Regions from separate parts of the Homo sapiens genome. Here all the other regions are linked to region 4. The links are contacts of gene promoters, found by promoter capture Hi-C in blood cells and fetal thymus (Javierre and others, 2016). All regions are on one chromosome and are shown on one strand. Each heading gives the region's core, a stretch centred on a gene start or on the middle of the fragment in contact. The rest is flanking DNA. Distances are from core to core; before and after follow the strand shown.

Region 1 (3,972 bases), core at 1,356-3,855, 1.3 Mb after region 4:
GAGTGTATAGCACAGAGCAGGCACACAAGCAGTTTGCTGGATGAATGAGTGAATGATACTAAAGAGGAGAAAATACAGACTTTAAGAAGCTCTCCGTATAGTGAGAAAGACTGAGGACCTAAGAGCAATGAAAATAGAAGTTAACAAGTATAAATAAAGAAGGTACAGGTTAATTTAAGTAATCAGATGATGATGCAGAATTCAAATAAAATAGGAGTCAATCAGCAAAGGTTCCCGAAAGGGTGAATTCTGAGAGATATTTGAAAAGAGGAAAGGGACATAACTTGAGAGAGCAGGAGTTTAGGAACATGTCAGAGAGTTAGGTTGAACCAAGGCATGATAAACATGTTTGAAGCTTACATTCTGAGCAGGATCTGTTCTACCCAGACCACAGGTTTCTGCCTTTTTTTCTGGCTCATCAAGCAGGCATGTTTACCCACTCTTTTTATCTTCATGTTTCCCAGGTCAGCCCAATGTGAGGACTTTAAGTAGTAGAAGGAAGTTTCTGTGAAAATATGCAAACAAAACTGCCTTGTGGGATCGAACATTTTTGGTAACCCTAGTTCTCTAGGGAAATAAACTTCCCTGTTCCAGATAAAATGGAACTGCTCCCCGTGTTGTTAAGCCAGAGAGAAAGCCAAATGACTTCCCTTAAAAGGTACTTCAGCGCATTTTACACAAATCATAGTTTTCTGTGTGTGTTATGGGGATCCAAGGAAATCAAAGATGTTAATGAGTGAGATTTGAGAAACAAAACTTGATAGTAGAATTTTGTCTTAGCCACAACTGCCCTTCTCCTCACAGAGTATATGCAAATACCGATGGTGACGGACAGTCACTTTCTAGAGCTCAGATCACTGCTGCCTCCAGCACTTGTGGGATGGAAAAAATGAAGAAATTACAGTTGCCCTAAAAATGTCCCCCACTTCAGGAACCTGAATATTTTACACAGCAGGAGATACATCGGAAGTCCTACAGAATCTCTTGACTTTGGGAGATGCAACTGCTTTTCTATTAGGATAACCTAATTTTCTGTGTCCATTTTCTCAGAATGTTGTGCCCAACGCGTTCTGTTTCCTAAATACCCAGCCTTCCTTCTGGTAGAGGCAAGAAAATTATGCTAGCATTCGCTCACTGCATGTTTTGAGCGTTTGAGTTCAGAGTACAGCTATTCTCTCTCCTCGTAATGTAAACACAGGTTCCCACGGCGGCAATGGGAGACTCCCCTAAGGGGCTCTTGACGTACAGGGAGACTTCCAGATATGGTACACAGATGTCACATTGCTAGAACGTCTCTAGACGGCAACGAAACATTAAAGCCTAACCTGAGGTAATCCCTCACCGGCAGTGAAGCTCCTCTGCTAGGCACTGTCGTCCCGTACACTGCCCAAGCTCTGGGGGTGTCACACTAAACTGTGGTGATGTCACACTAGCTGGGATGACATTTTACAGTTGGATCCCGTACCACCGCCAGGCACCTTTAAATCACCGCAGAGTCTGCAGTGCGGAGGGGGCGGGAAGTCCAGGCCCCGCACTCGATCCACGCTGGCTCCCTACGGAGGCCCACCTACTCGAGGCCCACCGACTCCTACTGCAATCAGTACTATGCGATCGTCCTAGAGAGTCCATTCAGCTGCACTTCCGCCTCAGTAGGTGTCATGGCGCGGGGCGGGTGAATAGTTCCGGCGAGGCGGGGCCGGCCGGGTTGAGGGACGGCCGCTCGGCATTCCGTTCGTCGGGTCTGGCGACAACGGCGGCTGCGGAGCAAGGGGCCCGGCGGTAGCCCCGGACGGCAGCAGGAGGCCGAGGCGGGAGCGCGCGGGGCTGAGGCGGCGGCGGCGGCGGCGGGAAGGGGCTGGGTGGTGGAGCGGGAGGGAGGCTGAGGAGGCTCCCCCTGCGGGACGGGCGCGGGGACGGCTCCGGGGGGCGGGGGCCGGGGCCCGGGCCGGCTCGCGCGGGGGGTATGATGACCCGGCTGCGGGGCCCCAGATCTCGTCTCCTCCGCCGCCTCCTCACGGCAGCCCCAGCTCGCGGCTGAGAACCAGACACACCGGCGGTGAGTGGGGACGGGCAGGAGGGGTCCTCGGCGGGGAGCGACTTCCCCTCAGCTCCCTGAGGCGGGGCCGGGCCGGCCGCCGGCTCTCCTGGAGCGCCCAGCCTGCCGGGGGCGCCTTCCTCAAAGGGCCCCTGCCTGGGACCGGGCGCCGCGTCTTGCGGCCCGGCCGCTCACTGCCGCTGAGGGGATTGCCTTCCCAGGAAGGTGGGGAGGCTCCGGGCTGGTTTTCGGGGCAACTCCCCCTGCCTCCTGCCACTTCTCGCCTGGGCGTGTTGTCCTTAAGTGACAGGGGACCGCCTTGCGTCTCCTCACTCGGCCGGTTTTTTCCCCGGCTGTCGTGGCAGGTTCCCAGTGTGTGGCTTGTGCGTGTGTACTTCACAGCTCCGCTTATCACCATGGTTTTGGGTTATTTGTGCTGTTTGGGACCAGGAAGCCGTGCCTGGAGAGGACGACAGTGGGGTGGGTGTGGAAGCTTTTCTGTCGTCTCCGCTGATGTTCTGTAGTCGTTAGGCTTGTAATTCGTAATGACGGTGGAGACTACGTGAGACCAGCCCACCTAATGTATATCTGTACAAGGGAGATCTAGAGGTCTGGCCCAAAGGGAAACTTTTGCTGCCACCACTTTCAAAGCTTTCGTTAAAAAAACAAAAGGGAGGGGGAAGGTGGAGAAACAACCAAAATTCTGGTAAGGCCCACACTGTTCACAGGTCTGTGGGGAAGAGTCCCCTTTTTGTGCTTAGCAACCAAGACGTGGAGTTCCGTCTCCAGGAGCGTTGGTCTAACCTCCAGTTTGTTGTGGTGACGAGCTGTGAGCAATGGCCTGTGTTTATGCTGGGCGAGCTTTCTTTCCTACTTGGGGAGGGGGGTTCAGGATGGGAGGATGCGGGTAGGGAAGAGGGGGGGAAAACCCCCAAGCTCCAGTAAGTCTTTTCTTTACTTAATCACTGATTCTGTTGTAGGTAGACTCATTTAGAGGCAGTCCTAGATGCTCTTTCTTGTCTATTAGTGACACTTTGGGAATTCTCAGTAATTGCATCAACATAATACTTTCAGCTATAGACTCTCTGTCCCAATCTGTCCTTTATCTTGTTTCTTAGTAACTGGTGAAAACAGCAGTGTGGCTTCCCGCTCTTGATGAAATAGGGTTAAATTAAGTGGCTGATGCCCTCAGCAAACCTACAATTTTCCTTTTGTTTGTGTAAAGCTATTTTTGATCTCTGGTCTGTGGGTTTTTTTTTTTTTTTTGTAAGATTATAGAGAATGCAAACTATTACTAGCTTTTTTCATATGGAAGCCTAAAGCTTTCTATAAAACATTTTAAAATCTAACAAATCATTTGACCTAATTTTCATTATTCAGCTGGTGATTTTGGATCTTTACATGTAATTATCTCAGGGTTCTGTGTTATAATACTGTTATGATGAAGGGTGGCATTGACTTTAAGATACTGTTCCTGGCTTGAAAGATATTTTAGTAAAGTACTTGCGGTTGGAACTGGAGGCAGCCAAGCCAGTAAAGTATCTTAGAATAAAATGGTGAATGAGATCTTATAAATATACTGGCTCTGGTTGGCAAGTAGAACTTTTGCTGGTGATACCTTCATGAATAGTTTATCTCTCGACACTGTAGTTTTGTGGTTTTTTGAGCAAGTTCGTTGGTAACTTGAGACTTCAAACCAAACCAGAACTTCCTTCTAAAAGAAAAAAAAAGAAGAGATAATCTCAAAGTTCACAATTCTTTGGAAAATAAACTTCTTTCATTCTGTGCTTTTGTTTTTATAAGCACAGCTCCATCAATGATTTGTTGGTACAAATCAGTGAGTCATACCGGCCTTGTAAAGTTCTTACACTTGGAACTTGTGCAGCTTGTTAGTTATATATTGTAACTGGTCTTGTAATTTGAAGTAATTTTGCAAA
Region 2 (3,798 bases), core at 988-3,487, 2.0 Mb after region 4:
CACTGCACCCCGGGTCATTCCTCTTTTACTTCCTTGCTGTACCCCAACTATCCTTCCCCCTCGGTGCCCTTAAAACCTTTGCATTGGGTAAGTACATTTTTTAAAGAGACTCTAGAATTGGGCGCCAGTCTCCAATTAAAATTGTGAAGCTTTATGGTCTGCGTATCAAAAGGAACCTCAGTTCCTTAAAAATCCTGTCATTTTGCCTTTAGGACTTAACGGTAATAGAATGGCATTCCTCACTGCCTCCGAACCACTCAAGCTGCTGCCCATGCACTCTCTTCTGCATGGCTCCTGGACTAAGCAGCCTCCCTTTGATTAAGCAGGTAAAAACCAAATAAAGTTGTCAGACTATATGCCCTGCCCAGTGTGCAGTCTAGACCCAGCCTTTGTCTGCCAAGAGCCTGGAAATGTTGACCTCCGTTATTAAGCCTGGTCAGTCTAAGACTAATTCTTATTACCGAAGTACCATTAGGTAAATGTGCTAGCTATAGATTTAAGTGACATAAAAGATCTTAAAGAATTCTCCAAGGGATCTGTGGGGGGTTTATGTATTTATTCATTAAAAGATCTGTAAACAACATTTTATACAAATCTTGATTCTTTTACAAAAATATCCAGAATTCCTAACACTTTACAGAAAACACAACAGACCTAAGGAAATGAAGCAGCTTCAGGCTGCGAGGATGAAGACACCATTGCTGAAGCAAAGGTCTCCTCCTAGAGGGATAGCCAGGATCCATCACAGTAAACCCTTTTACCCCCATTTTATAAACATCCAATTATTAACTGTTCCTGCTGGGTTGGAGTGTAAGAAGAGACCAAATGGAGAGATGTCTAGTAGAAGCCCCACTGGGGGTAACCTGCTTAACATTAAAAAAAAGACAGGCTCAGTTCTATTCCCTGGACCCACATCTGTAGGAATTATATTATACAGCACCAGTCTTAAATGGTGTTCTGCTTCAGATTCATGCATACCTGAATGGGTTGTAATGACAATACTGTACAAGTCAATAAACTGTATCACAATACAACTTACACAGTTTTGTAAGGTTGAATAAATACTTTCTGTGCCAGTTAAAACCATCAGCAGAAACTGAAGAAAACAAACTGACATTTGCTATAACATTAATCAATGAAAAGTGCACCATCTGAACTTGAATTTGCCCATGAGTTTGAAAACACACACACACACACACACACACACACACAGGCCGGGTGCAGTGACTCATGCCTGTAATCCCAGCACTTTGGGAGGCCAAGGTGGGTGGATCACCTGAGGTCAGGAGTTCGAGACCAGCCTGGCCAACATGGTGAAACCCCCGTCTCCACTAAAAGTACAAAATTAGCCAGGTGTGGTGGCGGGTGCCTATAATTCCAGCTACTCAGGAGGCTGAGGCAGGAGAATTGCTTGAAGCCGGGAGGCGGAGGTTGCAGTGAGCCGAGATCACACCATTGCACTCCAGCCTGGGCAAAAAGAGCGAAACTCCATCTCAAAAAAAAAAAAAAAAAACCGAAACAAAACACACACACACACACATACACACACAAAAAAAACACTGCACCATCACTGAAAACTTTCTCTTTCCAATCACTACTACTACTACTTTAGATATTAAAGGTCTGGATGACTAAGTGGTATATGTTCAAGGAATGTTCATATTTTGAGTCTAATTTAATTAGAGCAAAAATTTCAACATTTCTAGGGGAATAAAAAGAGTCTCATCTAGGCACCTATAAAGTTCCTTATCCTCAGAGCTGAAAAGTGGCTCTGGTACACTTAATAGAAAATTTTTATTAATAAAAGAAATAGCTATATAATCCTACTGAGATGAAATTTCCATCTGTAGGACTAACCAACTTTTTCTGTGTCCATAAAAGTCTTGGCTTCAGTTCTGTGTTGTACAACTTTGGGCAACGTATTTAACTTCTTTGAATTTGTTTTTTTCTTTTTTCTTTTCCTTTTTTCTTTTTTTTGAGATGGAGTCTCGCTCTGTCACCCTGGCTGGAATGCAGTGGCGCGATCTCGGCTCACTGCAACCTCTGCCTCCTGGGCTCAAGCGATTCTCATGGCTCAGCCTCCCGAGCAGCCAGGATTACAGGCACCTGCCACCACACCCAGCTAATTTTTTGTGTGTATTTTTAGTAGAGACAGAGTTTCACCATGTTGCCAGGCTGGTCTCGAACTCCTGACCTCAAATGATCCACTCGCCTTGGACTCCCATAGTGCTGGGATTACAGACGTGAGCCATAGCACCCAGCCTCAGTTTATTAGTAAAATGGAGATGCAAATATCTATCTCATAAGGTTGATTTAAGGATTGGTTGAGATGATATGCATACATATACCACAGTGCATGGCACATGGTGGACACTAAAAAATAAAGGTGGCTCCCATGCCCTTGAAAGGACATTTTCATATTAGCTATAATTTCACAAAGTTTAAATTTATTTACTTATTTTTAAAATGTTTTTGTAGAGATGGGATCTTGCTATGTTGCCCAGGCTAGTCTCAAACTCCCACCCTCAAACTCCTGCCTTAGCCTCCCAAAGTGGTGGAGATTACAGGTGTGAGCCACTGCATCCAGCCTCCACAAAGTTTAATGTTGACATGTGAGGCACAAGCAAACTACTCAAATGCCACATAATTTGGAGGAGGAGTTGCAAGATGTCTAATTTTATAAGGTACTTAATAACAGTACCTTATAATATTACAAGTAGGGCTTCCTCCTAAGTGAGATTCCCCTAGATATAATATAAGGCAAAACAATGGAGATATGTGATGAGTCTATTCCTTAGCCCAGGTCAAACAGCCCATGGGTTTAAAGGGGCCATGATAGTTCAGTGATGAGAATTATGTGTATAAGGCTAGTGTTCTCCATTTCCATCATGTCTCTCTACTACCTTAAACTCAGCATTTCTCTCATTATTCTCATCTTTGAGCTATTTTTTAAATGTAACAACAACAAGGCTTTTCCTTGTGAAACACAACTACTTTCACAGACAAAGCACAAAACAGAGAATGAGCCCAAGAATCACATAGAAAAGGCTGCTATAAAAAAAAAATGGAGACAGAGTAAAGATGGCATGGTGCCAGACCATTCCCAACAATTCTCCAGTGATTACTACAGCAGCAACAGGAGAATCCTCCTCTAACAGCCTGACTCGCTCTTTAACCTTTTAAAATTTCAAGAATTTTGTAGAATACTTCATGGGATCCTGACCCTTAGAAAAATATTTTCTTTGGCACTTTCTGTTGTATATTCAGGATGGAGACAATCAGAGATTTCATTTCTTTTGCAGAAATTTCATTTTGCTTCCTAAAGGGAAAGAAAAGTACAGTGAATGCTCAATTCATTTTTATTTATTGTACATTATTTGAGGTAAGGGATTAACAGGTCAGTCATTCAGAACAGCCCAAGAGTTAAGCTGACATCTCAAACTCAGTTGATGTGTTTAACCCCCAAAACAAAAACAAAAATGAACCCCAAACCCCATATGTCTAGTTAATTGTAGCGGCAGAAAAGAACTCAGACATCATGTAATCCAGTGGTTTTCAACCTTGACTATAGGTTAAAATCACCTGGCTTCTCCCCAGAGATTTCCTGGAGCCCAGGGGAAAATTTTTTTTAAGTTCTCTGGAAATTATAAAATGTAGTCAGAGCTGGGAACCACTGATCTAATCTAACCCCATTGTATAAAGATGAAATAACAGCCTAAGGCCTAATTTGTCCATGGTCTGTCAGCTAGTGAAGGACAGGGCCTAATTAGGGGGCATATATTTCAAAGACAAAATATA
Region 3 (3,959 bases), core at 280-2,779, 1.3 Mb after region 4:
TCCTTGGGTTGCCTTTTTACCTGTTGATAGTGTTTGACACAGAAAAGTTTTTAACTTTGGTGAAGTGCAGTTTGTCTACTTTTTCTTTGGTTGCTTGTGCTTTTGGTGACATATCCAAGAAGTCACTGTTAAGTCGAAATCATACAGATTTTCCCCTATGTTTTCTGCTAAGAGTTTTATAGTTTTAGCTCTTATATTTTGGTCTTTGATTCTTTGTTGATTTTTGTCTATGGTCCAAGGTACAAATCCAGTGTAATTCTTTGGCATGTGACTATTCAGTTCTTCAAACACCATTTGCTAAGAAGATTGTCCTTTCTGCATTGGGTGGTTTGGGCACCCTTGTTGGAATCATTTGAACATATATACAAATAATTCTTATCTTCTATTGCTTTCCCATTTTCAATGTTGGGCTCTCTATTCCATTAATCTATATATGTCTTTATGCCAGTACCACATTGTTTTGATTATTGTAGCTTTGTAGTAAGTTTGAAATCAGGAAGTGTGAGACCTCCAACTTTGTTCTTTTTCAAGATTGTTTTGGCTATTTGGGGTCTTTGAGGGTCCATATAAATTTTAGGATGGGTTTTTCTATTTTATACAAAAACCATAATTGCTTTTTATTAAGGATAGCGATGAATCTGTAGATGACTTTGGGTAGTATTGACAGCTTAATAGTAAGTCAGTCCATCCTTATTTCTTTATATCTTTTCACAGTTTTATAAAACTGGTATTTTTTACTTGAGGTAAGGTAAATAAACTCTTAGAGCCTTTGTTTTCTGGTTTTATGCTGCCCTAGGCAACCTTGGCTAACTTTAAGAATGTCATCTCCATTTATTTATTTATGCCTTGGGAGATTTAGGTTCCAACTACATTTGCTTTTTAATGCTCTCCTTTGAGCAGTCTCACCACCAGCCACACCAACATAACATATATATAACATACTCTACAGGTGCACTGAAGAATTCAGCGCAGCATCCCATTTTGAGTCCTCAGGAGGGACTAGGCAGACCACAGCTGAAGGAAGAGGGCTGATCAGCTCTTCCTTTCTGTCTTGACTCTGTGCCTGCAGGTGTTCTTTAACTATTTGTTTGCCCTGTCAAAGACAAAGTGCATTCTCTTGTGATAACAGAGTAGTTTTTAAATTGAAAAAGGGAGAGCAATAGGAGATAAAAATTATTTGGCTTTGTTATAATTGGGGCATGTTAATACAAAATAAAATGAATTATTTGGCTGCTTAGCTTTCTGTAATGTGTAATTCATTTGAATAATTTTCAGTGTTAGGTTGCTGATCTTTGTATTTTTTATCCTTTTAATTTAAGCTGTCAATTGATTCATTTTGGTTTTGTTTTTTATAGAAACTAAGGTTTTCAAATCTTCAAAGTTACCCTTCGACAAAGCTTTCTTTAAATTCACTGCAATATAGTTGTTGACTATAATTTTAAGTGGAGCTAAGTTTGCCTCTTAAAAACAGGAGTTCATTCTGTGTATTACTGAGTAATTACTCTGTATACTGAAGTTCAGTGCCCAGGGCTTGACAGTGTTTAGGATTTAACATGAGTGTTCTGTTGTGTCACAGTAATACTTGATAATGAGCCTAAGGCAGATGGAACAGCAGCTCAGGCATTCCTTCTTTATCACTAGTTTTACCCGCAGTGGTCCTCTTAAGCTTCTTTGATGTTGCTTTGTTGCCATATTAGAGTCCATTAAGTCCTCACCCTTCTGTCTTTCAAAAAACCTCTGTGAAATCTGTTTGGCTGGTGAAGCATTTTGACTCCAAAGCTAGTCCTTCTCTTACCCACCTTTTTAGTTTACCTTGCTTTGTCTTTCTGATAATATGCCAGTATTATCAGCTCACATAAATTTGCCAACTTGCTGTGTCCATTGGCCCTGGGCATGGCTAAATGATTCAGGCAGTGGAAATAATATACTTTACTCTCTGGCTCACTGTAAATGTGCACAGACTCCAAGCAAAGCTCCTGTCTTTCGGGCTTGAGTTTTAGAGACAAAGGTTTGCCATGCTTACAGGCTGAATGTTTTTCCCTACTGAACAAACTAGCCAGCCTTTATTTCAAGCTGAATCACTTTGTTACTTACGGAAGGAAAAGGTCTAGAGAAGGAAAACGTATCTTCCATTTATCCTAGACAAACAAATAATCTAATTTCCTCTGGCAGTCAAAATATAGTTTCACCTAAGCCACTGATGCAGGAAGTTAGGTTTTATGTAACCTCTCTAATTGGTAAGTAAGTAGGTTTGATGTCTCTGAGATAGGAAGAAAGAAACGAAAATGTTCATGAAAATAATCAGAGTGATTTGTGTTAAGTGATCCTAACCTTAGCTTGCTCTGGGTGCCAGTGAAATTAACCTCAACAATGTTGGTTGGAAGAATTTTTCAACTTAAAGAAGTTTGAAGTTGGGGAATCAAAAGGCAGGGATTGTTGTTTCTATCACTTAGCTGTAATAACCAGAGCCTGTTTAGTATTTGTTTTTTAAGGATGGGATGTGTCTTCAAAGAGGAGACTTGCCATGTTCAAAGCACAATTAATGCCATTTTCCTACTGAAGTGAACACTGCCAGTTTTTAACAGTTTCTTTCACTTTCCTGTGCTTCTGTAGATAACCTTTTTTACTGCCCAGTTGTTGGAATGTTACAGCTGGAAAGGGACCTAGAAGAGTAATTATCTAACTCTGTTTCCTTATTACACAAATGAGGTAGAACCAGAGTTTTACGTGTCTGTAGAGTTTATATTGAGGGATTAAGAAATAAGGAGGCCAAGAGGAAAGATGTAATGAAAATAATTCTAATAATTATAATCTGGATTCACAGTTTAAAGTATTCAGTCCTTAGAGATAAACCTGCTCTAGTGATGCCTTACTGTTCAGTAAAGTAGAAAATAACTTGTCTTTTTGCTTCGTAGAGTTTGGGTAAGTCTAACATTTATAGGCCCAAATAATACAAAACCCTCAGTGAACTAAGCAGCCTTACTGCTTTTTTGTTTGTTTTTGAGACAGGGTCTCAGGCTGGAGTGCAGTGGCGCAATCATGGCTCACTGCAGCCTTGACCTCCTGGGCTCAAGTGATCCTTCCACCTCAGCTTCCTGAGTAGCTAGAACTGCAGGCATGCACCACCATACCTGGCTAATTTTTTAAATTTTTTTGGTAGAGATTGGGTCTTGCTGTGTTGCCTAGGCTGGTCTCAAACTCCTGCTCAAGTGATCCTCCTGCCTTGGCTTCCCAAAGTGCTGGGATTATAGGTGTGAACCGCCGTTTCTGGCCGTATTTTTTTTTTTTTTAAACTGCTTTCCTTTTTTTGTTTTTCCTTTTGCTATTTGCCTTTTTATAAGGTAGATACGGTAGAGTTGCTGTTTTGACTGAGCTTTTGCTGGAAGTCCTTAGCTGCTTTTGTCACTCCAAAAGCAGGGTGAGACCAAATGAAAAAACTTTCAGCTAATCTTCAGTTTTTTTTTTTAATTAAATGGGACTTGGGGGCTGTGGAAGTGATATTTTCCTTAATTTCCCAGAAAACTTTAAGCTCGAGACAGTTATCATATATTATTGCTACCTTTTTTATTTTTTTCTGAGACGGAGTTTCGCTCTTACGCCCAGTCTGGAGTGAATTGACGTAATCTTGGCTCACTGCAACCTCTGCCCCCCGGGTTCAAGCGATTCTCCTGCCTCAGCCTCTGGAGTAGTTGGGATTACAGGCGCCTGCCACCATGCCCAGCTAATTTTTGTATTTTTAGTAGAGACTGGGTTTCATCATGTTGGCCAGGCTGGACTTGAACTCCTGACCTCAGGCCATCCACGTGCCTTGGCCACCCACAGTGCTAGGATTATAGGCGTGAGCCACCGCGCCTGGCCTGTTATCGCTACCTTTTAAAGAAGAAAGTTATAGAGTGGCCTGGCCATTCTCTGTGACCTACCTTTTGGACTTTAAAATGTCTTTCTAGTATGGTAGGAAT
Region 4 (4,111 bases), core at 203-2,702:
AGGGAGACTCTGTCTGTCTTTCTCTCTCTCACACACACACACACACACACACACACACACACACACACGAAACGTAAAAAAGAAAAATCTATAGTAATCAACTATTCTCATCTAAATGTTGCATATGGTTAACGTAGAAAAATAAATGACAAGTCAATCAGTAACACTGTGCATAGAAACCACCGTTAAGCACTTCATTCACCTGTTACAGAGATGCCAAATTAGCTCTTCAGTTTAGCTTATTTTAGAGTGCTAGTTATATTTGAACTTGATACCTATCCTCCAAAAAAACCAAAATATTTCCGAACATTAACTCACAGTCTTTCATGTCATCTCTGAACAGGAAAGGGGACATTTGCTGCCTTTTGCTTCAGAAAAATCAACCACCATACTGAATCATGTAATGGAAATACTTATATCTTGTTCTGAGGTTGCTGCTCAGATCTTGAGTGAAATATAATCACATGGTAAGGGGACCTGGGCCCTAAACACTTCATCCTGTCTACAGCTAAAGAATAGTACAGTATATGAGAATCCATCAGGATCATCACTTCTTACATGTGTTCGTATTGTCAGCACAGAATACGTAGCAAGTGTTCTACAGACGTCGAAAGAACTAGCAAACCCACTGTTGTTTGTGGCGCTCTCACTTCCTGTACTATTTTATTACTCAAGATAAGCCTAAAAGAACAGACAAAACTATCACGAAAACGATTTCTTAACAGAACTATTTTAAAACAAGAGAATCCTCAATTAAAATCATGCCATTTTCTTTCTCTGAAATCTTTAAATTACAGATGTGCTCATCTTTGTTGCCTGGATATGAGTTCTTTCAGCTGGGCAGCGGGAGACTCAAAGTAGTGACTTTTAAGGGATCCTACCAGAGGTGGGGGAGCCAATATAAATTACGTATCCTAATCTGAGACACTCTTCTGTCCTAATACCTGAAGCTTATAGCTTGTCAGGTGGCTTTTCCATGGAAAAACGAGGACATAAGAGAGAGGGCGGACCTTAAGAGTTCTACGGAGGAGCCGGTAACGGCAGCAGGCTTGTCAATCAACTGCAAGGTTGCAGCCCAAAAGAAAAAGAACTCACTTGATCGCTCATCATCGACTCCTCAGAGGCCCTCTAGGACTACCGAGAATCTCTTGCCCTTTGGCTCTTGCCCCCGACATCTCTCCTGGCCCCCCGCCCTGCCCCAGGAGGTCTGGTCCTCTCACCCGCTGCCAAATTCTCACACAGCCTCAAAGGGATCCTCAGGGCGTAAAGCAGCCCCAGCCCCGCCACGAACCACAACGAGGCCCCAGTCCCCGCCAGCCCGGCCCGCAGTCGCTCCCTCCAGCCTAGCGTCGGGTTTAGGCCAGGGACAGATGCAGGAGACGCTCCAACAGCTGCGGCTTCACCCACGCCGCCACGGTCCGCCATCTTGCCGCTATCGCAGGCGCCAGGAGCTGGGAGGGGAGAAGGACAGGAAACCGGGAGTCGGGAATCCTGGGATAGTGGCGGACCTGAAGTTGGCCTCTGTGAAGGCTGAGTCCTGGGGAACCGGGACCGAGAAGATTTCGAAGGTGGAGGAGCGTGTCTCAAGATTGGGGCTACCTGTTCTTTCGTGGGGCAGGGAAGGGGCGGACAGCAGCGCCTATTCTGGAGGAACTGGACTGAGATGTGACCCCGAAGTGTTACCGCTTCCAAACGAAATGAGGGTCACCTTTCACACCGCCCCCCCCCCGGGGTTGGAAAAGCCACCGATCGTTCCAGCTGCCGAGCAGCTCTTAAAGCTTTGGATTCGGCTGTCGTGGAGATAACGGGCACCAGAAAAACTTGTAGGAGTAGCAACAGCTATTTGGTCGGATGGAGGCCAGAAGCCAAGAATAATCGAAACACGCTGCCAGCGCCCATTAGATGGATGGGAAATGAGTGTAACTCATTGGGAAAGATATTAGACTTCAAATCACCTAAGGCAAACCCTACTTCCTGGGGCGCGGGCGCGGGCGCTGGCGTTAGGAGACGTCACTCCCGCGCATAACTGACATGGGGCCCTCTTGGTCGGCGTTTCCGGGCGGGTCCTTCCGACGGCCGCCGCGGTGATTCCATCACTCGGCTTTCTTCCCGGCCTGCCTCGCGCCCGTAGCCGGGCTGGGCCAGAACAGCCCAAGATGGCCGACTTCGATGATCGTGTGTCGGATGAGGAGAAGGTAAGGGGTCCGCCTCTCTCTCTTACCTCCTCCCCCGACAGGGAACTGGGGCCCGGCCCGGCTGCGTTGGGAGCCTAGCAGTGTCCCCAGGAAAAAGAAGCTTCTTGGTCCATGCTGACATACGCTCTCCGCAGTCGGGACGCTTCCCTCTTAGGGGGCTTTCCTCTGCCTCACGGTGGCCCCAGTTCCTCGTTCCTCGACTCTCCTTTTCTCTCAGGCCTGAGGCACAGCCCAGGGGCCTCCCTGCAAGGGAACAGACGTTTCCTTTATTGGATCGTGACTGTGGACTTTTTTCTGTAATTTTGCGAGAGGGTGGTGGTTATGTTGCGACATATCAAAAAGCAGTTATTTTACCGCCTTTAGCAGTTGGGGCTCACCCCATCCCCCCATTTGTAGATATAATTGGGGTTAGTTTAGGGCGAGTCACTTCCTGGTCAGGATGGCCTCTTAACTTCCCTTTTGCTCCTCCTTCCTCAGGAAGTGATTTTGCTGTCACGACTCTTCGACAAGGAGAGGTCCCAAATGTTGTCCATCTCCCTACACATGCACTACTTTTCTCCTGTACTGTCGCCTGTCTGATTCGCTATAATAAATCTGTGAGCCTCAGGGCATTTGCTTCAGAATTTGAACACCAGTCTTTCCCTATAGACACATCCCTTTTAACGATAATTTTTGAAAATTTTGTTTCTTGTTAACAAATCTAGAATAGCTGATGGATTTTCTTAACCTCCAGAAAGGTTTTCTGTAACACATAATAAACCTTATGTTAACACGTTCAAGACTGAACAAAGCATCCTGCCTTCTTTGATGCTCCACTGTGGAGTCTTTGATCAGTTGAATTTGTCAGTGTGCATTTTGTATGCTCATTTCTTGAAAAGGGTCTTAAATACAAGAGCACATTCTAAGGTGGAATAACTTTTCTTCTGACAGTTGCACAGTTTCATAACAGTTTGTCAGGCTTTTCAGTAAGTACATGGTTTTAGGGCACGTAGAACTTAGAATGACCTCACAAGGCAACTTATTGGACAAGAATTATGACATTTGTCTCCCACTGTGGCTATTAGAAAATGTGTCCCCTTGAGTGCTCTGTAAATCTACCTGGGTGTTTTTTTCAATAAGAAGTTGGGATGGGAAGGGGACTGTTATGATCCATAAGTCCTCTGTACGGAATAACTTGATATATGTAGATATGGCATGCCATTTTGAAATGTTTAACAAGCCATTGACAACAGCGTTAGATTTTCTCTTATTTGGAAACTGATCTTCATACATGTTTAAGATTTAGGACAAAAACATTTATGTATAAGCCTATGCTGGAAATCGATCTATAATAAATTGTTCTAAGGCAAATAGTTACTATTCAAATAAAATTAAGCAAAAATCCTGTTACAATACAACTAAACAATTTTTTTTTTTTTTTGAGACGGAGTCTCGCTCGGCTCACTGCAACTTCCGCCTCCCTGGTTCAAATTATTCTCCTGCCTCAGCTTCCCGAGTAGCTGGGATTACAGGCACCCGCCACCAAGTCCAGCTAATTTTTGTATTTCTTGTAGAGAGTGGGTTTCGTCTTGTTGCCCAGGCCGGTCTCAAACTCTTGGGCTCAAACGATCCATCCGTCTTCGCCACTTAAAGTGCTGGGATTACAGGCGTAAGCCACCGCGGCCGGCCAAAATTTCACAAATAATTTAAATAATAAACTTTTAAGTTTATTGTGCCTACCTGATACACATTGACCAGTGTTGTTGGATTTTTGTCTTTGATACCAGGTTAGAATGCCTTTAATTAAACTTGGGAAAATATATATTTTAAAATGCCAATTAAGATGCCTTTAGATACTGGCAGTGTTTTAATTAATAACATTAATGTCTTGGGTTATGGTTTTTTTTTTTTTTTTTTGAGATGGAGTCTCGCTCTGT
Region 5 (4,000 bases), core at 1,501-4,000, 1.7 Mb after region 4:
TGACACAGCGAGACTCTATCTTGGGAAAAATAAATAAATAAATAATAAAAGACACGGTAACTGATTGGATATGGAAAGTAAGTCAAGGAAGCCTCTTGGGATCCTAGCTGAGACAACTGAATGAATGGAGACAAATGTCACCAACTGAGTTGAGGGATGTAAGAGGGATGAAGAAGAAGCATATTCGGTTAGATGACGACTCTAGTTTTGATATGGGGAGCTTGAGCAGCCTGTCGGGTATCCAAGTGGAAATGACTGGAAATCTATTAGAAAAGAGGGAGAGGGATGTAATGAACTTGGTTTGGTTTTGTTCGGTTTCTGCTCTGCATCTTATGAACCTACTTTATATGCCAGAGGCTCTCCCATTGTATGGATTTGGTCGGAGACATCACACCCACTAATTCTCCAAAAGTCCAAAAGGCCAGATACTTACTCTCCATGACATCTGAGGTCATGAGTCACATGACCCAAGTATTGCCAATCAGCTAATTCTGCTCAATGCTTTGTTCATTAGTGAAACAAAAAAGCAGGGGATAGCTGAAATTTCATTCAAATGACGCCAGTGGTAACATCCAGCGTCCTGTGTTGGTCCAAGCAGGAGTATCTGCATCCTGTGGGGGTGGCCATAGTATACCCCACCCCATCCTACCCTGGCTCCTGCTCATTTTCTAAACCTGGTTCTCCAGCCCCACTGCAGTCTCTGTGAGCTATCCAATATCCTCCCTAAATCATTTCCTTTTCTGATTAAGTCATCCAAAGTGGGTTACTGTTGTTTGCACTGAAGAACCCCAACTAGTAAAGAAATTTACAACAAGACAGAGCCACAAGGAAATGGAGAGTTTGCCGGAAGATTGGTTATAAGTCTAGTCAGAATACTAAAATCCAGTTGATATTCAGGGAATCTGGCAGTCAGTGGCTCACAGTGGTAAATTGCTCAAATTAAATGCTCACTTATAGTCACCTGGAATGAAGAATTCATTAAGGCAAAACTTTGAAGACCATATCGCTACTTGCATAGAATGAAATGAAGAGCTTGAGTCATACAGACTGTTGTAAATGTAGCTTTTCCCAAGAGAACAAGAGAGTTAAAAAAAAAAAAAAAAGAAGACAAGCTTAAATCTCTAAATGTCCAACTCAAAGACTTTCCAGTAATGTGCTAAAATGATATCTTATTTACAGTCTTTTAAGGCTAGCATAGCTGAAAGCCAAGCACAGAAGTGCATTGCCAAATTTCAACATCTGCTGAGGTGACATACTGAAGCAGCTACATGGTCCAGGGTATATACCCTGGGGTTCGTCATCTCGCGCCGGGAAAATTTAGGACAGGGAGACACACGAGGAGTTTAGGAGCAGAGATTTAATAGAGAGAAGAGAAGAGAAATAGAAACAGCTCTCTCTCTAGAGAGGGGTCTCCCAACAGAAAATGACCAGCTGGTGGAGGAGGCACTGGGTTTTATAGTCCAGCTTGAGGAGATGTCGCCTGATTTACGTAGGGCTCACAGATTGGTTGGATCAGGTATGATGTTTACACAGCCCCGGGGAAGGCTGGCTACCCTGCCCTAATCTTATTATGTAAATGAACTCTCCTGCTGACCCGTGCCACCTTGTCTCCTTTTTACTGTACACGTGGCTGATAAAGAGAAGGGAAGATGGGGCCACCATTTTGAACATGATTGGCACAACTGCCGGTATCTATCAGCTCAATTTTACAGGCTGCTCTTTGTTAGAAGGGAAAATGATTTGGGGCTGCTTTTCATTAAAAGGAAAATCTTACTGAGGACTTCCCTACCCTCACTATCTGCCTAAGTAATTTCTTAACTTCTATATCAAAACTCCCTAGGTATGTTATATAAAGGATAGGGCATTGTTCAGAAAGGACTGTGGCCCCTACATGGGGCACGATGGCTCACGCCTATAATCCTACACTTTGGGAAGTCAAGGCAGGAGGATCACTTGAGCTCAGGAGTTTAAGACTAGCCTGGACAATATACTGAGACCTCATCTCTACAAAAAAAATTAACTGAGCATGGTGTTGCATACCTGTAGTCTCAGCTATTCAGAAAGCTGAAGTGGGAAGATCACTTAGCCTGGGAGGTTGAGGCTGCAGTGAGCCAAGACTGCACCACTGCACTCCATCCTGGACGACAGAGAAAAACCATGTCCCCGCCCCAAAAAAAGACAGCGACCCCCAAAATTGTAATAAGGACATTTGGGAAGATCTCGGAGACTCATAGAACACCAAACATGGAACCCTCCGGGTCTCTCTTGCCAGCTAAAAGGCATGTCCCTCCCTTGTCTGATGAGGCTGCTCCTGCGTAGTTTGAAGATGCTCTAACTCTGTGCACAGACTTCCTCACAGAAAGAAGCCAGCTCTGCTCATGCCTCTTTCCTCCACGCCGTCACTCATGGCTCATAAGTCTGTAAATAGAGTCAGACTCTCGCATGACCTGGAAGCAGGAAGTGGAGCTTTTGATTACTTAAAAAGTTAAATCCCCACCAAAAGACTCAGATAAGCAGATTCTAAGGTGGAGATTAGCAAGCAAGACCTTTATCAGGAAGTGAGCTTGAGACCACCCCTGTGGAGCAGAAGGGACAGAAGCAGCCTTGGGCAAGGAAGCAGTTGTGCTGTGCGCACAATTAGCATAGCTCTGGAGCTAGATGGTCATTTAGAGCTCTTCTGAGTTGGAACCAAGGAGCCAGCCTTTGTTAACCCAACTTTGACCAGTCGTTGGATGTGGCTGCTTCATGATGGGGACATGACCTTGGGCTAGGGACATTTCTTCACTCAAGGCATCCCCAGAGTGAGCTGCTGGCTGAGGGCCCACTCCCAGCAGCTGGGAGAGTAAGTCCTTCATTTCTGAGAGGGGATACAGTGGTGCACCACAGTGTCCAGCACCGTGCATTATTTTAAATCAGCCTGAAATTAATCAGGAGTATGCTCACCAGAAATCAGGAGACAGTGTGCTATCTCCAGCCATTGCAAGTGGCCCTAATTGCTGCCTGTCAGTTGTTTTGAAATGTGGGCTCAACAGTGGCTCATGTGAAATGAAATTCCATGAAACAATGGAAGAAATAATCCAAAAATTTCGGAATATAGAAGTGCTGGAGAGGATTTATCATGTGTCACCTACCCATTCATCTGCTAATTCTCTCTCAAGAGGGCCCAGAAGAGGGCCCAGATTGGTGAGGGAGCACCTCTATCTCTGAGAAGCAGTCTTGTGACTGATTTCCGTAAACTAAAGATGCAATTGTAAGCAGTTGAAATGGGATCCCTGATTTTAATGGAAAAGGAAAGATACCAGAATAGCAGAAGCTGATTTCAGGCACTTAACTACAAAAGACAAGATAATCATGGTAGTTATAATAGACAAGAGGGCTGGAATGGTAATAAAAATGATCCAACCTGACTTGATGGGGGCTAACTGATGAAGTCTGGGGTAGAAATTGAAGTTCTCCATCAATATCCACTCTCTTGTTCTCTCTAACCCAGCCTCCTTTCAGCTGATATGGTTATATAACCAGCTCTGGCCAATGAAGTGAAAGAAGAAAGGTGGGCTATCTTCATCCATTGTGCTGCTATAACAAAATACCTGAGACCGGGTAACTTGTGAAGAACAGGAATTTATTTATCACAGTTCTGGAGGCTGGGAAGTTCAAGATCAAGGCACCAGTAGGTTTGCTGTCAGTGAGGGCTGCTCTCTGCTTCCAAGATGGTGCCTTGTTGCAGCATCCTCCAGAGGTGAAAAATGCTATGTCCTCACATGACAGAAGGGCAAAAAAGGGCCAGACTCTCTGTGAAGGCTCTTTTATGAAGGCTTTATTCCTATTCACAAGGGAGAAGCCCTCATGATCTAAGCATCTCCCAAAAGGCCCCACCTCTTAATACTGCCACTATGAGGATTAAGTTTCAATATGTAAATGTTGGAGGGGACACCATCACTCAAACCACAGCATGGGTCATCTCCAGGACATGCCCTTAAAGGAGGTGGGGAGGATACCA
Region 6 (4,101 bases), core at 632-3,131, 1.2 Mb after region 4:
TTGATATTGCCTTAAAAAAGTAAGTGCTGATTTTTGGGTTTTTTTTTCCAAGACAGAGTCTTGTACTGTCGCCCAGGCTAGAGTGCAGTGGCATGATCACGGCTCACTGCAGCCTCAACCTCCTGGGCTCAAGTGATCCTCCCACCTCAGCCTCCTGAGTAGCTGGGACTACAGGCACATGCCACCATGCCTGGCTAGTTCTAAAAAAAAAACATTTTTTTGTAGAGACAGAGTCTCACTGTGTTGCTTAGGCTGGTCTCAAACTTCTGGCCCCAAGTAATCCTCCCTCCTCAGCCTCCCAAAGTGCTGGAATTACAGGCATGAAAATGCTGCTTTTTAAGTAGGAAAAATGTTCAAATCTAGGCATATTTGAGAGGAAGCAACATGGAGGCAGCTCTCTAATATTTTATCCTCATATTAGATTATGTAGACTGTTGTTAAGCTAGGTAGGCCTAGAGTACTCAAGTTGTATCACTGATTTAGAGTAAAGAAGGAAGCAGAGAACATTTATGTTCCAGGTAAAGTTGGGAGCTTTTTTCTTTTTCTTTTTTCCTTTTTTTTTTTTAAATGAGATGGTCTTGCTATGTTGCCCAGACTGGTCTTCAACTCCTGGGCTCAAGGGACCCTCCCACCTCAACCTCCCAAAGTGCTGGGATTATAGGCATGAACCACCTGGCTTGCTTTTTTCATAGTTTTTACAATATTCTGTGTGAATGTTTTAGCTAAATGATTTCATATAAATCATAACTTATTTTTTAAATTATAACTTTTTTTTTTGAGATGGAGTCTCGCTCTGTTGCCGGGATGGAGTGCAGTGGCGCAATCTCAGCTCACTGCAACCTCCGACTCCCTGGTTCAAGCGATTCTCCTGCCTCTGCCTCCTGAGTAGCTGGGATTAGAGGCATGTACCACCATGCCCAGCTAATTTTTGTATTTTTAGTAGAGACAGGGTTTCACCATGTTGGCCAAGATGGTCTCGATCTCTTGACCTCATGATCCGCCCGCCTCAGCCTCCAAAAGTGCTGGGATTACAGATGTGAGCCACCCCTCCCAGCCTAAATTATAACTTTTTAAACCTCAGAGTTAATGAAATCCAAACAAAATTTTATGGCAAAAAAGACAGATCCAGAAATTTTAGTTAAACATTTTGTGAAGATGACACAGGGACTCTTAACTTAGGCGTGGCAGAGATTGCTCCCCATCCACCAATATCTTCTTTGCTTCTTCCTCAAATAGAATTGTGTGTAGGCAATTTTGTCTGTCTGCCCAGCAATATTACATTTCCCAGTCTCTTTTGCAATTTAGTTATAGCACATGTCTAAGTTCTCTTCAAGGGAATATGAGCTGATATGATCTGGCCATTTCCAGGCCAGTGCCTTTGAAGACCAGAAGAGTAAGAAGAGGAGGCCACACCTCCACTTTTTCCTCTTTTCTTGCCACCTACAGTCTGCATGTGGCGGCAACCTAATTTTGATTGTGTAAGTAAGGACAATACCATTAAGTGGCAGTTCTCAAAGTGTGATTCAGGGACTCCTGGAGGCCTCACACTCTTTCAAGGGGATTGGTTAATAATAATTTTTAGTAGTAATAGCCTACCACTAATTGCTATTCTTACAAAAAATTATACCTGATACTACTTTAAATAGTACATAAATATGTATCACATAGGACAATAGAATGCTTAGAAGAATATAAAATTATTGTTTTAAGTTTATAGCTTATACTTAGGAGCAATTGGGTAAGCAAACCTTAAAACCGTCAGAATTGTGCTTCATTTCCTACTATTGAATTAGTTATATAAGATTAAATAGTGGCAACTGCTGTTCTTTTTATCATACTTCTATGTTTTTTATAAATTTGCTTTAGATATGAACCAGAATATCACAGCATCTCAATTTCTCCATTTGGATAGTCATATTTATTTACTACATGCCAACACAATAATTTGGTTACCTAGCTTTATTTTCCACATATACTAGATAATTTAGTTCTGTGTGAGATGTTAAGAGGTAGTTAAGGTTAAAAATAAAAAGATAAATTGCATGGAAAAGAATATAAACATAAGGACCTATACATGCAACCTAAAATCATATTTAAAGTTGAATCAGTTATACTGTAAATGAGTAATTTAGGTAATTTTTTTAACTCTTCAGTAAAATAACACACATACCAAAATTCAGAAATGAGCTGGAGTTATTTGACTGAACAGATTCTGCAGGCTTGTTTGGTGGGCAAGAATTACAGATACCTAGAATCAAAAGAAAAAAATATAAGGGAAAGACTAAAGACAGACTCAGATGACTGTTGATCAGATCACATATAATTGTTAAGAGTAATTAATAATCCCAAATAAACATATCACTGTCAAATGTTAACAAAATGTAGGTGCTTACAAATGGGTTGACACTATAATATTCTCATTTGTATTTTTGGTTTTTTTCTTAAAAGGTTTCTTTTCTTTGCAAACAGATTGTATAGTAAAGCCCAACACTAAAGAAAATTGCTAAGGAAATAAGATCCAATATATCATGAATCAGCATTTTTTTGTTTTTTTTTTTGAAATTCACATTTTGGCTTTGGACTTCATATTACTTTTTCCTCTGGCCACTCTTAGTACATTTTTACATCATTTCTTCTCCACAATAATTCATCCATGACAAGTCTTTTATTTGTATTATATAATCCTCTACCCTGGAATCTCTTTTTTTATTCCACTTTCCAGCCTGATTTTTTTCTAATTATAAGTGATTCTAATTTAGGCCCATAACCGGGCACGGTGACTCACGCCTGTAATCCCAGTACTTTGGGAGGCTGAGGCAGGCAGATAACTTGAGGCCAGGAGTACGAGACCAGCCTGTCCAACATGGTGAAACCCCGTCTCTACTAAAAATACAAAAAAAAATTAGCGAGGCATGGTGTTGCAAATCTCTAATCCCAGCTACTTGGGAGGCTGAGGCACAAAAATTGATCCAACCTGGGAGGCAGAGGGATGAGGTGAGCCCAGATTGCGCCACTGCACTCCATCCAGACTGGGTGACAGAGCAAGACCCTGTCTCAAAAAAACATAATAATTATTATTATTTAGGCCAATAATCTCCCAAAAGCATTGTTATGCTGCTTTGTTTTGCTATTTTAGTTACTTATAGGTATAAGTTAACTTATAAGTTACTCATAGGTCATATATGTACATTGATATATTCATGTATCAGTTTCTGCAGTTTTGAAAACAGTCCCTTAAAAACTTTGTCCACATTTTGCACATTCTCTGTCTTGGCAATGGAAAAAGATAATTTCAGGTTTGTATAAACTTTCTAACAAATTGCATATAAATGGGAAGATATTAAGTGTTTTTGTGTTGTTTTCAACATTTTCAGAATGCACTGTGTGAACTGCATATGCATATTAGGTATGCATATTTGCACATGCATACGTAATACTAGGATTCTAGAAACACCTTCCTTTTCGAGGAGGTACCTGAGTATGAATCACTAGACTACATACTGAATTTCAATCAGATCTAATTAAGATACATATTTATTTTGTACTTACTATATTACTATAGTAAGTATAATTATTATACTTAATATATTAAAATACTTAATATAAAGTATAAGTATAAAATACTATTCATATTTAAATACTTACTATGTGCTAAGCATTGCTGTAGGCACTGAAGATAGAGACATTAATAGAAAGTAGTAAAGGTGAGGAAGTTCAGGAGATATCAGTAATCTGTATACTGCATAGGAGCTGAAAGTTATATACATCCTTCAGAAAGAAAACAAAATTGTCTCAAAGGAGAATATTGTTTTTTTTACAAAGGAGGCACAGATTCCACACATATATATCAGAGGAAACTGCTATTTTGTTATTTTGGCTCATCATGGATTTTTTTGTTTTGTTTTGTTTTGTTTGTTTGTTTTGGGGTTTTTTTTGAGACAGTCTCACTCTGTCGCCCAGGCTGGAGTGCAATGGCACAATCTCGGCTCACCACAACCACCGCCTCCCAGGTTCAAGCGATTCTCCTGCCTCAGCCTCCCGAGGACCTGGGACTACAGGTGCATGCCAACACGCCTGGGTAAATTTTTTGTATTTTTAGTA
Region 7 (3,712 bases), core at 593-3,092, 1.9 Mb after region 4:
ATCGTCTATCCCATTAGCGTGACATTCACGTGTTTCAATGTAGAAACATTAACGTGTTTGATAGAGTTAACTCAGACCCTGATAAAAGTCTCACATAACAGACCTTGCCAGAAAAAAGAAAAATCCCAAAATATTCTGAAGTCCTTACACCTGGATCCCAAGAGTTTAAGAGACTGTGAAACCTTTATCTTTTCAGCCCATCAATCCAATCTAATTTCCACCAATCACCCTACACAGTCTTTAGTTCCAGGGATGTAGAAGGGTGTCCTGTGCCCTGAATACCCTCCAACCCAGTGAGGTACTCATTCTTCAAGAAACCTGTTCATGGATTTCCTTTCCTGTGAAATTTCCCTGACCTTTCCTCTATTGTGCCACAACCATTGTACTGAGGACTCACCTCCACTGCTGCAAGTTATATGTTTCTCCTGTTAGACTGTGAATGAAGTCTTCATTGAGTACTTTATTCAATCCTAGCACAGTGCCCCAACACTAGGGGCTCATTAACGGCCAATTAGCTAAAACAAATTCATGCCCAGCTTTCCCTAACTCTCAATTTCCTTCAAAGTTCATTTCTCCTTCATCCCCAAACCTTAGGATTTTCCCTAACCATGCAGTCCACTTTCCGAGTTTCTCTTTCCCCATGTCATCTTACAATTTTCTTCCAGGCGCCTTCTCTGGACCCCTTGCTCTCCAACATATTCTCTCCACCTCCATTTAATCCATAGTCCTCCTCTCTCCTATCTGTGAACACGCCAAGTCCCCTCCCTCCAAAGCAATCCATCTTCACTGCCCTTACCTCTTACCTACTCCCTCAACACCTCGCTGGCCCGGGCCCTTTCAGCCAAAACGCTTCCTCACAACGTGTTTCCCAAATCCCCCTTCTCTCACTGTACGGGTCTGCCAGCTCCAGAACCAGCGCTCGGCCGGGTTCCGCACATCACAAACCCTCCCTCGGAGCCAGTGTCCCCTCCCCCAGCCTCTCGCAGCCGGCACCCCTCCCTTCATGCTCCCCTTATCTCTTGCGGTCCAGCTTCTCTGGAAAGTGTCCCAGGGGCGAGTCTTTCACCTTAGAGACCCCTCGGGATGGCGCCCGTCCGAGCAGCCCCAGGCCCCAGCACCTCCGTCCCCAGCTCCTCTAGGGTTGCGCAAATCCCTTGCGGCCCAGATGCCAGGCAGGGCCTCCGGCTCACCTTGCTGGATGTCGCCGTTGCTGCCCCCCGGGATGGGCACGCTGAGCTGGCGCTCCGGCTCGGGCAGGCAGCGCAGGCAGAAGGAGTGAAGACAGGGCAGCAGCTTGGGCTCCGCCTCACGCCGGCTCTGCAAGCTCTGCTGACACACGGCGCAGGTGTCCAGGAGCGAGGCTGGCGGTCCAGGAGGCGGCCCTGCCGAGGGACCCGGAGCGGGAGCCGAGGCTGGAGCTGGAGCCGGCGTCGATACTGCGCCCCCGGCAACTCCAGTGCCCACTGAGGCCGCAGGAGATGAAGCAGCCTGGGCCGAGCCCGAGGAGGCCGCGGCCACCCCCCCGTCGTCGGGCCCGGCCGCGCCGCCCTCAGCGCCGGCCCTGCCGCCTTCCTCCTCCTCCTCCTCCACCAGCACCGCGGTGAGAGGCGGCTCCGCCTCCTGCGCGGCGGGCCCGGCGGCCCCGGCAGTTACCGGCGCGCTGCCGCTGCCCCCGCCGCCGCTCTCAGCCTCGCCGCCGCCTTTGTTTTCCGCCATGTTTTCCTCTTTGAACCCGCCGGACCGCCCCGCGCCGCCCGCCGCCCGCGTCGCCGCCGCCGCCGCCCCCAGCCCCAGCCGCAGCCGCAGCAAGAGCGGCAGCCGAGAGCTAGCGAGAGAGCGAACCAACGAGAGCGCGCGCGCACGCGGCGCCCCCGCCCTCGCGTCGCGCGTTTGAAGGAGGGCGGTTGCGGCACGCGCACGTACGCACGGACGTCCTCCCGAGGGAGGCGGGAACTCGGTTCGCGGGCGCGGAGCGGTCCCGGACCCTCGAAGCCAGTTCCTTGCGTCAGTGCCGCGGCTCTTTAACCCGAAGGGAGATTTTTTTTTTAAAGCCAGAGGCCGTTGACGCTGGGTAGCCTTTGGCTGGGGTTGGTTATGAACTCCGACACAGCGGTGGTGCATACGGAAGGGTGGTAGCCGGGACGGTTCCGGTCCCTGCGAGCGTGTCCCGGGCGTCTCCGCGGAAGTTTCACCTGCCGCGCCGCTCGATCGCCGGGACCTCCTGGGTCTCTGCTGTGCGTAGACCAGCCGCGTTCCTTTGGGTGGCCGTGGAGCACTAAAGCGGGGCTTATTGTTTGTTTGGTTTTGGTTTTTTTTTTTGTTTTTTTTTTGCTTTTTGTTTTTGAACTGAGGATCTATCAGAAATAGGCTGAAAAGACCGAGTGAGGAAGAAACTCTTTAACAGCTATTTTTGGCATCTTAAGGTGATTCTCAGGAGTTGCTACGTATCAGAATCAACGGAGGAGTTTTTCAAAGCAGAGATGCCAGGGCCAGTCCCCAGACCTGAATCAGGAAGTGAGGGAGAGAGCCGACGGAGGGGGAAAAGTCCCTTCAGCTGATTCTTATGTATGTCAGTTTGGAGAGCCACGGATATAACCAATACTGCGTCCTTCTGAGGTCCCACTTTAAGTGTCCTGGGTTGAGCTGGGTGACAAATGCCCTTACAACAATGGTAGTAGAAGCTTTCAGGCCAAGCGCAGTGGCTCACGCCTGTAATCCCAGCACTTTGGGAGGCCGAGGCGGGCAGATCACTTGAGGTCAGGTCAGGAGTTCGTGGGCAGCCTGGCCAATATGGTGAAACCCCGTCTCTACTAAAAATATAAAAATTAGCCGGGTGTAATGGCGTGCGCCTGTAATCCGAGCTACTCAGGAGGCTGAGGCAGGAGAATGGCTTGAACCCGGCAGGAGGCGGAGGCTGCAGTGAGCCGAGATAGCGCCACTACACTCCAGCCTGGGCGACAGAGCGAAACTCCGTCTCAAAAAAAAAAGAAAAGCTTTCAGAAAGTTGCCTTTTTATTTGAAAAAAAAAAAAAGGTATTTGGAGGATTTTATGTAGTGCAACAACTGTTTTAGTGTTAAGATCATGAAATGCTTTGGTCTCCTGTTAGTGTTCCCAAGAAAGGTGCTGTAAGTCCTTAAACCACGTGAAAACTTTTTTTTTTTTTGAGACCTCCTCGTTCTGTCGCCCTGGCTGGAGTGCAGTGGCGTCATCACATTTCATTGCAGCCTCGACTTCCCAGGCTCAAGCCGTGCTCCTCGCAATTACCTGGGACCGTAGATGCACGCCACCATGACTTAGCTGATCTTTTTTTTCCCTTTGCCTCGAAGAGGCTGGGGTCTCACCATGTTGCCCAGGCTGAAACTCCTGGGCCCGAGCGATTGGCCCGCCTCAGCCGCTGGAAATGCTAGCATTACAGGCATGAGCCACTGCGCCCAGCCTCCTGAAAACTTTTTAAAATTTATTCAAAAATGTTTCCTGACCTCTTTATTGTCATAGTGTTTTAGAGATACACTGGGATTACAAAACAGAGGAGCTCCCTGCATTCAAGGGGTTTACAATCTAATAGAGAAAAAGATTGAGAATAGATACATGCCAGGGAGTGGTAAGTGCTGTGAAGAAAAGAATAAGTGGGGTAAAAGGGGTTAGAGGTGATTGAAGAAGGCCCCTGTTGATCAGATGAAGGAACCTGTCTTGGAGAAGAGCAGGAGAGGA

What was found. Contacts are between HindIII fragments. The CHiCAGO score rates a contact against its expected background, and 5 or more counts as called.
Region 1: a contact is called between a fragment that was not itself captured here and the fragment with the promoter of ST7L in region 4, in 7 of 17 cell types (fetal thymus, naive CD8 T cells, total CD8 T cells and 4 more). The highest score is 14.9, in fetal thymus.
Region 2: a fragment that was not itself captured here is called in contact with the fragment with the promoter of ST7L in region 4 in 1 of 17 cell types (non-activated CD4 T cells); the score reaches 5.8 in non-activated CD4 T cells.
Region 3: a contact is called between a fragment that was not itself captured here and the fragment with the promoter of ST7L in region 4, in 1 of 17 cell types (fetal thymus). The highest score is 5.5, in fetal thymus.
Region 5: a contact is called between a fragment that was not itself captured here and the fragment with the promoter of ST7L in region 4, in 2 of 17 cell types (total CD8 T cells and naive CD8 T cells). The highest score is 8.4, in total CD8 T cells.
Region 6: a contact is called between a fragment that was not itself captured here and the fragment with the promoter of ST7L in region 4, in 1 of 17 cell types (naive CD8 T cells). The highest score is 6.0, in naive CD8 T cells.
Region 7: the fragment with the promoter of TRIM33 here is called in contact with the fragment with the promoter of ST7L in region 4 in 7 of 17 cell types (naive CD4 T cells, fetal thymus, total CD8 T cells and 4 more); the score reaches 10.3 in naive CD4 T cells.

Annotation. Positions count from the first base shown.
Region 1 is chr1:113,927,884-113,931,855 of GRCh38, forward strand. HIPK1 (homeodomain interacting protein kinase 1) reads left to right here and starts at 1,441. Exons shown (of 16, transcript NM_198268.3): 1 at 1,441-1,649. HIPK1-AS1 (HIPK1 antisense RNA 1) reads right to left here and starts at 1,642. Exons shown (of 3, transcript NR_110726.1): 1 at 1,479-1,642; 2 at 361-505. RefSeq lists an enhancer at 1,352-1,671 and silencers at 1,792-1,841, 1,862-2,171. The HindIII fragment of the contact is 158 bases long and covers 2,527-2,684 here.
Region 2 is chr1:114,582,313-114,586,110 of GRCh38, forward strand. DENND2C (DENN domain containing 2C) reads right to left here. Exons shown (of 21, transcript NM_001256404.2): 21 at 538-3,319. The coding sequence ends at 3,288. It overlaps LOC105378914 (a long non-coding RNA gene), which reads left to right. Exons shown (of 3, transcript XR_947719.4): 1 at 1-87; 2 at 213-326. Among named protein-coding and RNA genes, the nearest start is that of BCAS2, 2.6 kb to the left of the region's middle. The HindIII fragment of the contact is 4,180 bases long and covers 148-3,798 here.
Region 3 is chr1:113,945,280-113,949,238 of GRCh38, forward strand. All of the region lies in intron 2 of HIPK1 (homeodomain interacting protein kinase 1), which reads left to right. Among named protein-coding and RNA genes, the nearest start is that of HIPK1-AS1, 18 kb to the left of the region's middle. The HindIII fragment of the contact is 269 bases long and covers 1,396-1,664 here.
Region 4 is chr1:112,617,689-112,621,799 of GRCh38, forward strand. It overlaps ST7L (suppression of tumorigenicity 7 like), which reads right to left and starts at 1,453. Exons shown (of 15, transcript NM_017744.5): 1 at 1,221-1,453. The coding sequence starts at 1,425. CAPZA1 (capping actin protein of muscle Z-line subunit alpha 1) reads left to right here and starts at 2,144. Exons shown (of 10, transcript NM_006135.3): 1 at 2,144-2,195. The coding sequence starts at 2,157. RefSeq lists enhancers at 1,417-1,516, 1,625-2,824, 1,977-2,426. The HindIII fragment of the contact is 828 bases long and covers 949-1,776 here.
Region 5 is chr1:114,337,162-114,341,161 of GRCh38, forward strand. No RefSeq gene overlaps it. Among named protein-coding and RNA genes, the nearest start is that of TRIM33, 170 kb to the right of the region's middle. The HindIII fragment of the contact is 3,280 bases long and covers 1,111-4,000 here.
Region 6 is chr1:113,817,407-113,821,507 of GRCh38, forward strand. It overlaps PTPN22 (protein tyrosine phosphatase non-receptor type 22), which reads right to left. Exons shown (of 21, transcript NM_015967.8): 20 at 2,171-2,248. All of the region lies in intron 3 of AP4B1-AS1 (AP4B1 antisense RNA 1), which reads left to right. Among named protein-coding and RNA genes, the nearest start is that of AP4B1-AS1, 6.8 kb to the left of the region's middle. The HindIII fragment of the contact is 8,296 bases long and covers 1-4,101 here.
Region 7 is chr1:114,509,361-114,513,072 of GRCh38, forward strand. TRIM33 (tripartite motif containing 33) reads right to left here and starts at 1,843. Exons shown (of 20, transcript NM_015906.4): 1 at 1,191-1,843. The coding sequence starts at 1,716. It overlaps LOC124904348 (a long non-coding RNA gene), which reads left to right and starts at 1,978. Exons shown (of 2, transcript XR_007066452.1): 1 at 1,978-2,565. RefSeq lists silencers at 1,380-1,679, 1,710-1,819 and enhancers at 2,010-2,179, 3,040-3,712. The HindIII fragment of the contact is 2,747 bases long and covers 1-2,679 here.